Regions from separate parts of the Homo sapiens genome. Here region 2 is linked to region 1. Evidence: promoter capture Hi-C in human tissues and cell types (Jung and others, 2019). All regions are on one chromosome and are shown on one strand. Each heading gives the region's core, a stretch centred on a gene start or on the middle of the fragment in contact. The rest is flanking DNA. Distances are from core to core; before and after follow the strand shown.

The links. Contacts are between HindIII fragments. The study calls those that stand out against the background at their distance.
Region 2: a fragment that was not itself captured here is called in contact with the fragment with the promoter of FKBP1C in region 1 in 5 of the 25 tissues and cell types used here (H1 embryonic stem cells, aorta, hippocampus and 2 more).

Annotation. Positions count from the first base shown.
Region 1 is chr6:63,209,669-63,214,200 of GRCh38, forward strand. FKBP1C (FKBP prolyl isomerase family member 1C) reads left to right here and starts at 1,801. Exons shown (of 1, transcript NM_001395980.1): 1 at 1,801-3,359. The coding sequence starts at 1,889. The coding sequence ends at 2,215. The HindIII fragment of the contact is 10,095 bases long and covers 1-4,532 here.
Region 2 is chr6:63,062,476-63,067,007 of GRCh38, forward strand. No RefSeq gene overlaps it. Among named protein-coding and RNA genes, the nearest start is that of FKBP1C, 150 kb to the right of the region's middle. The HindIII fragment of the contact is 5,493 bases long and covers 1-4,532 here.

The DNA of each region.
Region 1 (4,532 bases), core at 551-3,050:
TACATGAGTTTATGCTTACAAAATAATCAATAACTACAATGTAAAATCAGCACTCAATCCTTGTAAGACCACAGTATGAAAATTTCTACTTTCCTTCAAAAAGGGTTTGTAAATGATTTTAAAAGAAGAAACAGCAGCCTCGACTCTTAGAAAACTTAACTAGATAAATTTGCACATTACAAGTCTTAAAACTAGAAACCATATTATTAACTGTGAAACTATATAATTAGTTTCTTTGTGAGCTTTCAATTTTTTGCTAGATAAAATTAAAACTGCCACCAAAAAATGAGGCCATTATGAACATGACAGGTCATTTGTTGAGAAAAGGGTTATGTAGAAATAGCATCTGATAATTTGTTGGAAATATTAGCATATAGATGGCTATGAAATGTGTGAAGTATTATCAGAAGAATTCTAATAAAAAATTTTTGCAGTGTAAGTCGACTATGGTTCTATTTCAAATGTAGTTAGGTTCTTAGCCCTAATGGCAAGCAGAGGCTACACTAAATGTATTTAACCTAAAGACAAGTTGATAAGAAATTTATAATTCCACTGTTTTTTAAAAATTACAAAAGTAAAAGGTATATACACATAACATCTACAGCAACAAAGAATGCAAAAACATTCTTTTCACATAGAAAGAGTTAAATATACATGCTTTCAAGAACAATAGCAGCTTCTCTTAAACTTTCTTAACTTACCTAGTGTTTTCTATCACTAAAAAAGCTGTATGTAAATCATTAAGTTTAGACTACTGAATCTATATCGTTCTTTGTAAACCAGACTCAAAGCATATTTCTTTCTAAGTTAACATGAACATAATAGAACACACAGAAAGAAAAATATAACTGTGAGTTTATATGCAAAGTACTGGACAACTTTCAAATATATACATCCTTCCTTTTTTCTTTAAAATATCTCTCTACACTGATACTTCTGGCAGAAACCTGACAATAGTGGCTACGCTAATCGTAGCATACTATTTAGATGGACAACAGTTAATTCATTTGAGCAAAAGTTTTAGAGATCTGTTTTAGACCTTTAAATCAAACTCCAGATATATACAATAGTATCCCTTATCCACAGTTTTGCTTTCTGCAGTTTCAGTTACCCATGGTCAATAGTGGTCTGCAAATATTAAATTGAAAGCTTCAGAAATAAACAATTCATAAGTTTTAAATTGCACACCATTCTGAGTAGTGTGAAGAAATCTCGAGCCATCCCGTTCCACTCTCACCTGACTGAGACGTGAATTATCCCATTGTCCACCATCTCCACACTGTATACCCTCCCTGTCTGTTAGTCACTCAGTAGCTGTCTTGGTTATCAGATCAATTGTAAGGTAGCTCAGAGCTTGTGTTTAATATGTACCCCTTATTTTACTTCATAATGGCCTCAAAGTGCAAGAGTAATGATGCTTTTATATTGTTATAACTGTTCTATTTTATTATTAGTCATTGTTTTTAGTCTCTTGCTGTGCCTAATTTATAAATTAAATTTTATCATAGGTATGTATGTACAGGAAAAAATATAGTATATATAGGGTTCTGTACTATCTGTGGTTCTGTGGTTTCAGGCACCCACTGGGGATCTTGGAACGTAGCCGCCACAGATAATGGGAGACCAAACACAAAGTTAACAAAGTTAACAAGGAAATGGTAACACTTCCAGTACGGGAAAAAAAAAAAAAAACCTATTTAGAGATTTTTAAGTGACTCATTCAACACACTTGCCCAGAAGGCACTAATATAGAATTTGTAGATTTTAAAAATACAGTATGGGCAGGCAACGCGCTGAGGGACTAGGCAGAGCCGTGGAACCGCCGCCAGGTCGCTGTCGGTCCACGCCGCCCGTCGCGCTGCCCGCCCGCTCGGCGTCGGCCGCCGCCATGGGAGTGCACGTGGAAACCATCTCCCCAGGAGACTGGCGCACCTTCCCGAAGCGCAGCCAGACCTGCGTGATGCACTACACCGGGATGCTTGAAGATGGAAAGAAATTTGATTCCTCCCGGGACAGAAACAAGCCCTTTAAGTTTATGCTAGGCAAGCAGGAGGTGATCCGAGGCTGGGAAGAAGGGGTTGTCCAGATGAGTGTGGGTCAGAGAGCCAAACTGACTATATCTCCAGATTATGCCTATGGTGCCACTGGGCACCCAGGCATCATCCCACCACATGCCACTCTCGTCTTCGATGTGGAGCTTCTAAAACTGGAATGACAGGAATGGCCTCCTCCCTTAGCTCCCTGTTCTTGGATCTGCCATGGAGGGATCTGGTGCCTCCAGACGTGTGCACATAAATCCATATGGAGCTTTTCCTGATGTTCCACTCCACTTTGTATAGACATCTGCCCCAACTGAATGTGTTCTGTCACTCAGCTTTGCTTCCGACACCTCTGTTTCCTCTTCCCCTTTCTCCTGGTATGTGCGTTTACCTAAACTATATGCCATAAACGTCAAGTTATTCATTTTACTTTTTCATTTTGGGGTGAAGATTCAGTTTCAGTCTTTTGAATATAGGTTTCCAATTAAGTACATGGTCAAGTGTTAACAGCACAAGTGATAAGTTAACGTTAGGATAGGAATTGGTGTTGAGGGGGTTGCAAGAATATTTTATTTTAATTTTTTGGATGAAATTTTTATCTATTATATATTAAACATTCTTGCTGCTGCGCTGCAAAACCATAGCAGATTTGAGGCACTGTTGAGGACTGAATTATTCTCCAAGTTGAGAGATGTCCTTGGGTTAAATTAAAAGCCCTACCTAAAACTGAGGTGGGGATGGGGAGAGGCTTTGCCTCCACCATTCCCACCCCACCCTCCCCTTAAACCCTCTGCCTTTGAAAGCAGGTCATGTTCACTGCGATGCTGGACACTACAGGTATCTGTCCCTGGGCCAGCAGGGACCTCTGAAGCCTTCTTTGTGGCCTTATTTTTTTTTTTTTTTTTTTCATCCTGTGGTTTTTCTAACGGACTTTCAGGAATTTTGTAATCTCATAACTTTCCAAGCTCCACCACTTCCTAAATCTTAAGAACTTTAATTGACAGTTTCAATTGAAGGTGCTGTTTGTAGACTTAACACCCAGTGAAAGCCCAGCCATCATGACAAATCCTTGAATGTTCTCTTAAGAAAATGATGCTGGTCATCCCAGCTTCAGCATCTCCTGTTTTTTGATGCTTGGCTCCCTCTGCTGATCTCAGAGTTTCCTGGCTTTTCCTCCCTCAGCCACTTCTCACCCCTTTGCTGTCCTGTGTAGTGATTTGGTGAGAGGAATCGTTGCTGCCCCCTTCCCCTAGCACCATATATGAGTCTCAAGTTTTATTATTGCAATAAAAGTGCTTTATGCTGGCTTTTCTCAAAAAATAAATAAATAAATAAATAAATAAAATAAAAATACAGTATGCACCTGTTCACCAAAAATCTATGGAAATAAAAAAATTAAATAAATAACTAAATATAAATAAAAATATGGTATGGAACCAGCCTAATTACTCATAGAACTGCTGTTTATGGTTTCTTTTGAATAAACATAAAAATTGAGACTCCCATCTTAAAACTTGAGAAAGTTACATTTGTCTTATCTGGGTTCCTTTCTCAGGAAACCACACATCAGGCCTTCCAGACAGTATCAAGGAAAGGAAACTTACGAGATCACCACATCTGGACAATAAGATGAAAGACTCCTCACCTATCATGATCGCATAAGTGACCACCTGCTTCCTGTTGACCAACTCCTCTTCTTTACCCCTCCCTAATTCCTGTTTTCCCACACATAGTTACATTTCTTCCCTGCTATACAAACCCTTAGTTTTAGTTGGTTGAGGTGACTAATTTAAGGCTCATCTCCCATTCTCCTCAGCTGTAGCACCCAAATAAAGCCTTCTTCCCTGGAAATTCTCATTGTCTCAGTGATTGGCTTTCAGGGTGGTGAGCTGCAGGACCTAGACCAAAACCCTGGCATTTTTATAACAGTATGAATTTTCAGTTGTACAATTCTTATAATGAAGAGTAGTAATGTAACTTATAGGTGACTTGGATTAAAACTATTGACCGGACTTTTTAGTTTCAATTACTTAACACTCTAAATCCTAGTATATTTAAATGTAAATTAAATGCTTGCAGCTAAAAACGCATCTTAATTCATATTATAGCAGCTTCAGGTTATGCTTTATTGATCTCCATCCTTTAGTATTTGTATGCAACTATAAGATAAATTTTAAAATTGTGAAATAATTAAGGGCAAATGAGACAAACTGTTTGTTCCTGCCCCCAAAAAATCTACACTTCTCTTTTTTCTTTTCTTTCTTTCTTTCTTTCTTTTTTTTTTTTTTTTTTTTTTTGAGATGGAGTTTCACTCTTATTGCCCAGGCTGGAGTGCAATGACATGATCTCGGCTCACCGCAACCTCCACCTCCTGGGTTCAAGCAATTCTCCTGCCTCAGCCTCTCAAGTAGCTGGGATTACAGGCATGCGCCACCACACCTGGATAATTTTGTATTTTTAGTAGAGATGGGGTTTCTCCATCTTGGTCAGGCT
Region 2 (4,532 bases), core at 574-3,073, 150 kb before region 1:
GACAGGAAAATGTGAAAGTTTGGAACTTCCCAGAGATTTGCTTAATGGCTTTGACCAAAATGCTGATAGTGATATGAACAATAAAGTCCAGGCTGAGGTGGTCTCAGTTGGAACTTGTTGGGAACTGGACTAAATGTCACTCTTGTTATGCAGAGACTGGCAGCATTCTGCCCCTGCCCTAGAGATCTTTGGAACTTTGAACTTGAGAGAGATGATTTAGGGTATCTGGTGGAAGAAATTTCTAAATGACAAAGCATTCAAGAGGAAGCAGAGGACAAAAGTTTGGAAAATTTGCAGCCTGATGATGTGATAGAAAAGAAAAACCATTTTTCTGGAGAGAAATTCAAGCTGGCTGCAGAAATTTGCATAAATAAGGAGTCAAATGTTAATCACCAAGACAATGGGAAAAATGTCCCCAAGGCATGTCACAGACTTTCATGGCAGCCCCTCCCATTACAGGTCTGGAGGTCTAGGAGGAAAAAATGATTTTCTGGCGGGGTCAAGGACTCCCTGCTCTGTGCACCCTCAAGACTGCATCCCAGCTGCTCTAGCCATGGCTAAAAGGAGCCAACATATAGCTCAGACTATTGCTTCAGAAGTTAAAAGCCCCAAGCCTTGGTAGCTTCCATGTGGTGTTGGGCCTTTTGGTGCACAGAAGTCAAGAACTGAGGTGTGGGAACCTCCACCTAGATTTCAGAGGATGTATGGAAAGGCCTGAATGTCCAGGCAAAAGCTTACTGCAGGGGCAGAGCCCTCAAGGAGAATCTCCGCTATGCCCATGAAGAAGGGAAATGTGGGGCTGGAGCCCCCACAGAGTCCCCACTGCCTAATGGAGCTGTGAGAAGTGCCCTAATGGGGACTGCCTAATGGAGCTGTGAGAAGAGGGCCACCATCCTCTAGACCCTAGAATGGCAGATCCACCAACAGCTTGCAGTGTGCATCTGGAAAAGCCACAAGCACCCAATACCAACCAGCCCATTAAAGCAGCCATGAGGCGGGCTGTACCCCGCAAAGCCACAGTGGTGGAGCTGCTCAAGACCATGGGAGCCCACTTTTTGTATCAGTATGACCTGGATGTGAGACCTGGGGTCAAAGGAGATCATTTTGGAGCTTTAAGATTTGACTGCCCTGCTGGATTTCTAACTCACATGGGGCCTGTAGTCCCTTTGTTTTGGCCAATTTCTCCCACAAGGAATGGGGTGTATTTACCCAATGCCTGGACCCACACGTTTACCTATGTAACAAACCTGTATATTCTGCACATGTACCCCAGAACTTAAAATAAAAGTTGAAAAACAAAACAAAACAAAAAAACTTTGGAACCAGTCATACAGCCTCTCTGATAGCATCTCCATTAGCAATTCATGAAAAAGATTTCTAGGATCAGAAAGGAAACTCTCTTCTGCCTCTACCTTGGAAATGGTATTCTCAACACTATGTTAGAAGAAAATTAAACATGTAAATATCTTTGACATTTAAAAGTTTCTAAAAATGAATTAAATTATAAATGGCAATAACTTAGGTTTATGTGGCACTTTATGTTTTTCAACGTCCTTCTAACTATATTATGCCCCCGCCCTTGGTAGAGCAGTCATGAATACTTAAAGTGACTTGCCTAAAGGAGCACAGCTAACTAGCTATAACACTTATAACAAAGATGCAAGATTCACATTTGCTTTTCTTTTCTGTGAATTTGACCTTACTAAAGGAAGCCATTGCCACAAGTAGACAAATTCTATATTAGCTGTACTCACATGGGATTCCTGTTGTGGCTCTCACTGTCATTTTATGACACAGGCTCCCCCATAACAAGAACCATGGCATTTTCCAGGTCCCTCACCTGCCTTATGACACCCCCCAAAGTGTAGAGTGGGATATCCTCTCCATGATGATTCTGCTACTTTGCTGTAGCCTAACCAGAATTGTAATAGTCATCCAAAGGTTGGAAATTAAAGCCATAACCGCATGTACACACATATTATAAAGACTTTTTTTCTTCTTTGGCAACTATTACAAATGTGACCCAGGTAAAATGAAAAATTCTCAGGATTGCTATGAAATCATTTATTTTCCATGCCACACCAGAGTTTTAAAATATTAGAAAATTAAGATATATGAATCTCTCTTGCTCCAAGCTAATGCATTTGTCATATATTTCAAGGTGGTCCTGGCATGATGCCATATCTAAGTTTTTAGTTCAGAACTGTGACTAGCATGGCACTATCAAAGTGCACCAAGGTCTTTCCCTTGTATTTACTAGAAATAGCATTCTAGAAAATATCTCAAAACTCCCAAGGTAGGAAGAACACTAAAAAGAAATCTATTTTTTTTCATCTGGCACCTTCAAAATGAACTGAGCCTCACTTTTGGTCTACATTGAAGCATTTGGTCTAGATCCATCTTAGGTATATTCAAGATAGCTTTTCCGTATTAGAAAACTCAAATACAGTATTAGTTGATGTAGAAGTCAGAAAAATGTACGAACTACAATTCTTTTAAAGTTCTATTTTCGTCAAAGTTATGTTCAATAATTTTTCTATTTTATTTTTATTGTTTTGTTTTCAATACATAGACATAAACATAGTTCACTTATCTGGCACCAAGTTAGAACAATTTTTTAGAAAATTTGCCTTCCTTGTAAACAGATAAGAGTTGTAAGACCCACGCTATTGTAACTGAAAGCAGACCAATAATTTTAACAATAGAACAAAATGTTTATTTAGAACAAGAAATATTTAAGCAACTATGTGTTTAACAAAGTACTATTTAAAGGACATACTCATTAAGCACCATAAAAAGCTGATTTTGGGCATGTGCTTATATCAACTCATTTAATTCTCACAGTATTGAATTAGTTGGTCTACATGAGAATTTTCTGTTATGTGACCTCTCAGATGATCATTTGGGAATCCTGAATTCCCAGGTATTGGTAATGCATTTAATTGTGTAATGAAGTTTATCAAATGATGAGCATCGTATATGAACAAGATACTATGATAATAACAATAATTATCTTTATTCATTGAATTCTTTTAAAGTGACATTGTTCTTTCTACACATATACTTTTGTTTAATTATCTTAAAATCCTACTGAGTAGGTATTAGTATCCTCATTGAACTTACAAGAAAGCCAAGCTTCAAAAACAAGGTAATTTCCCCAAGTTCACAATTATAAAATGGTAAATGAATTCAGCCCCAAATCTTTTTTACACTAAAACTCATGTTCTCATTTCACCCTGCTGCCTCTAATTTTAGAGCATAAACCAGTTCCCACTTAGAAAAACATGCTTTCAAATAAAATGAAATAGGAGAAAAGATATAATGAACAGCTTGAGAATAAAATCACACATAATTTGAGAATAACCTCATAATTCACAAAACAAGTTTGCATCTGTTATTCTAATGTACTGCCTGTGTTATACTTGCATATTTTCATAATTTATTCATGCTGTTACATTATTTTTTCTCAATATAAATCAAATGTATATTTCTTTTACTTAGCAAATGATTTCTAGTAAACCTGACAGAAAGTTTCCTACTAGCTGACACCTTGTAATAGACAATCAGAAATTCTCACTGCTGTCAACATGTTAGAATGTTTTGGCCCTATTTAAGAGTAGGGACTCTTAAAGTAGGGACTCTCTAACTAGAATGAGGAACTTTCTAGTTTAAGAAAACTGAAAAAGATGCGCTTGACATGTAGCAGGTTGTCAACAAAGAGAAGTGAGTGTTGAATGAATGAGCGGTTGACACTAATATTTGACATTCATGTAGGCCAGCAGGGGGAGAAATTTCAGCATTCTTCAAGTCACATGCTCATAGGTGAATGCCCTGGGCACAGACTCTTGAGACAGATTTGGTTATAGGAAGTTTCTTGGGGAATATCCTCAGAAGCAGCACTCATGAGAGAGAGAATAAAGAAAGATTGGGCAAAGGGAGAAGTTGAACTTCAATGCAGTTGCAGCAGGGGCCTCAGCCAACCACATAGGGACATCTGGAGCCAGGACAGCCCTCAGAGATGCCACACTAAGGCAGGGGGGCTGGGCCTTTGAAATCCTTATCAATCAGTCACTAGGATTAGCTCTGATCTGTTATCAGCCAAAAGTCCCTGCAGCTAGAAGAAGGAGTTCCACCGTCACCAAGCAGGGAAGTTGGATAGCACATCACAACATCCAATACCTACAGCCACTTTTCCTATAAGTGTTCCTTTTACCACATTCTGCCAAATAATAATTACCACTTAAAAAATAGACTATATGTTTTACAATACACATAAAATTTTGTTTTTATAATCTTCAACATAAATTAATGTGAAATATTCTTCTCAATCCTATTTTACAGATAAGAGTGAGATTCAGTAACATTAATTAACATCTTTTTACATTTTTTTCATAAGTTATTGGGGTACAGATGGTATTTGGTTACATGAGTAAGCTCTTTAGTGGTGATTTGTGATATTTTGGTACACCCATAACCCCAGCGGTATACACTGGAAAATATTTGTAGTCTTTTATCCCTCTACCCCCTCCCAC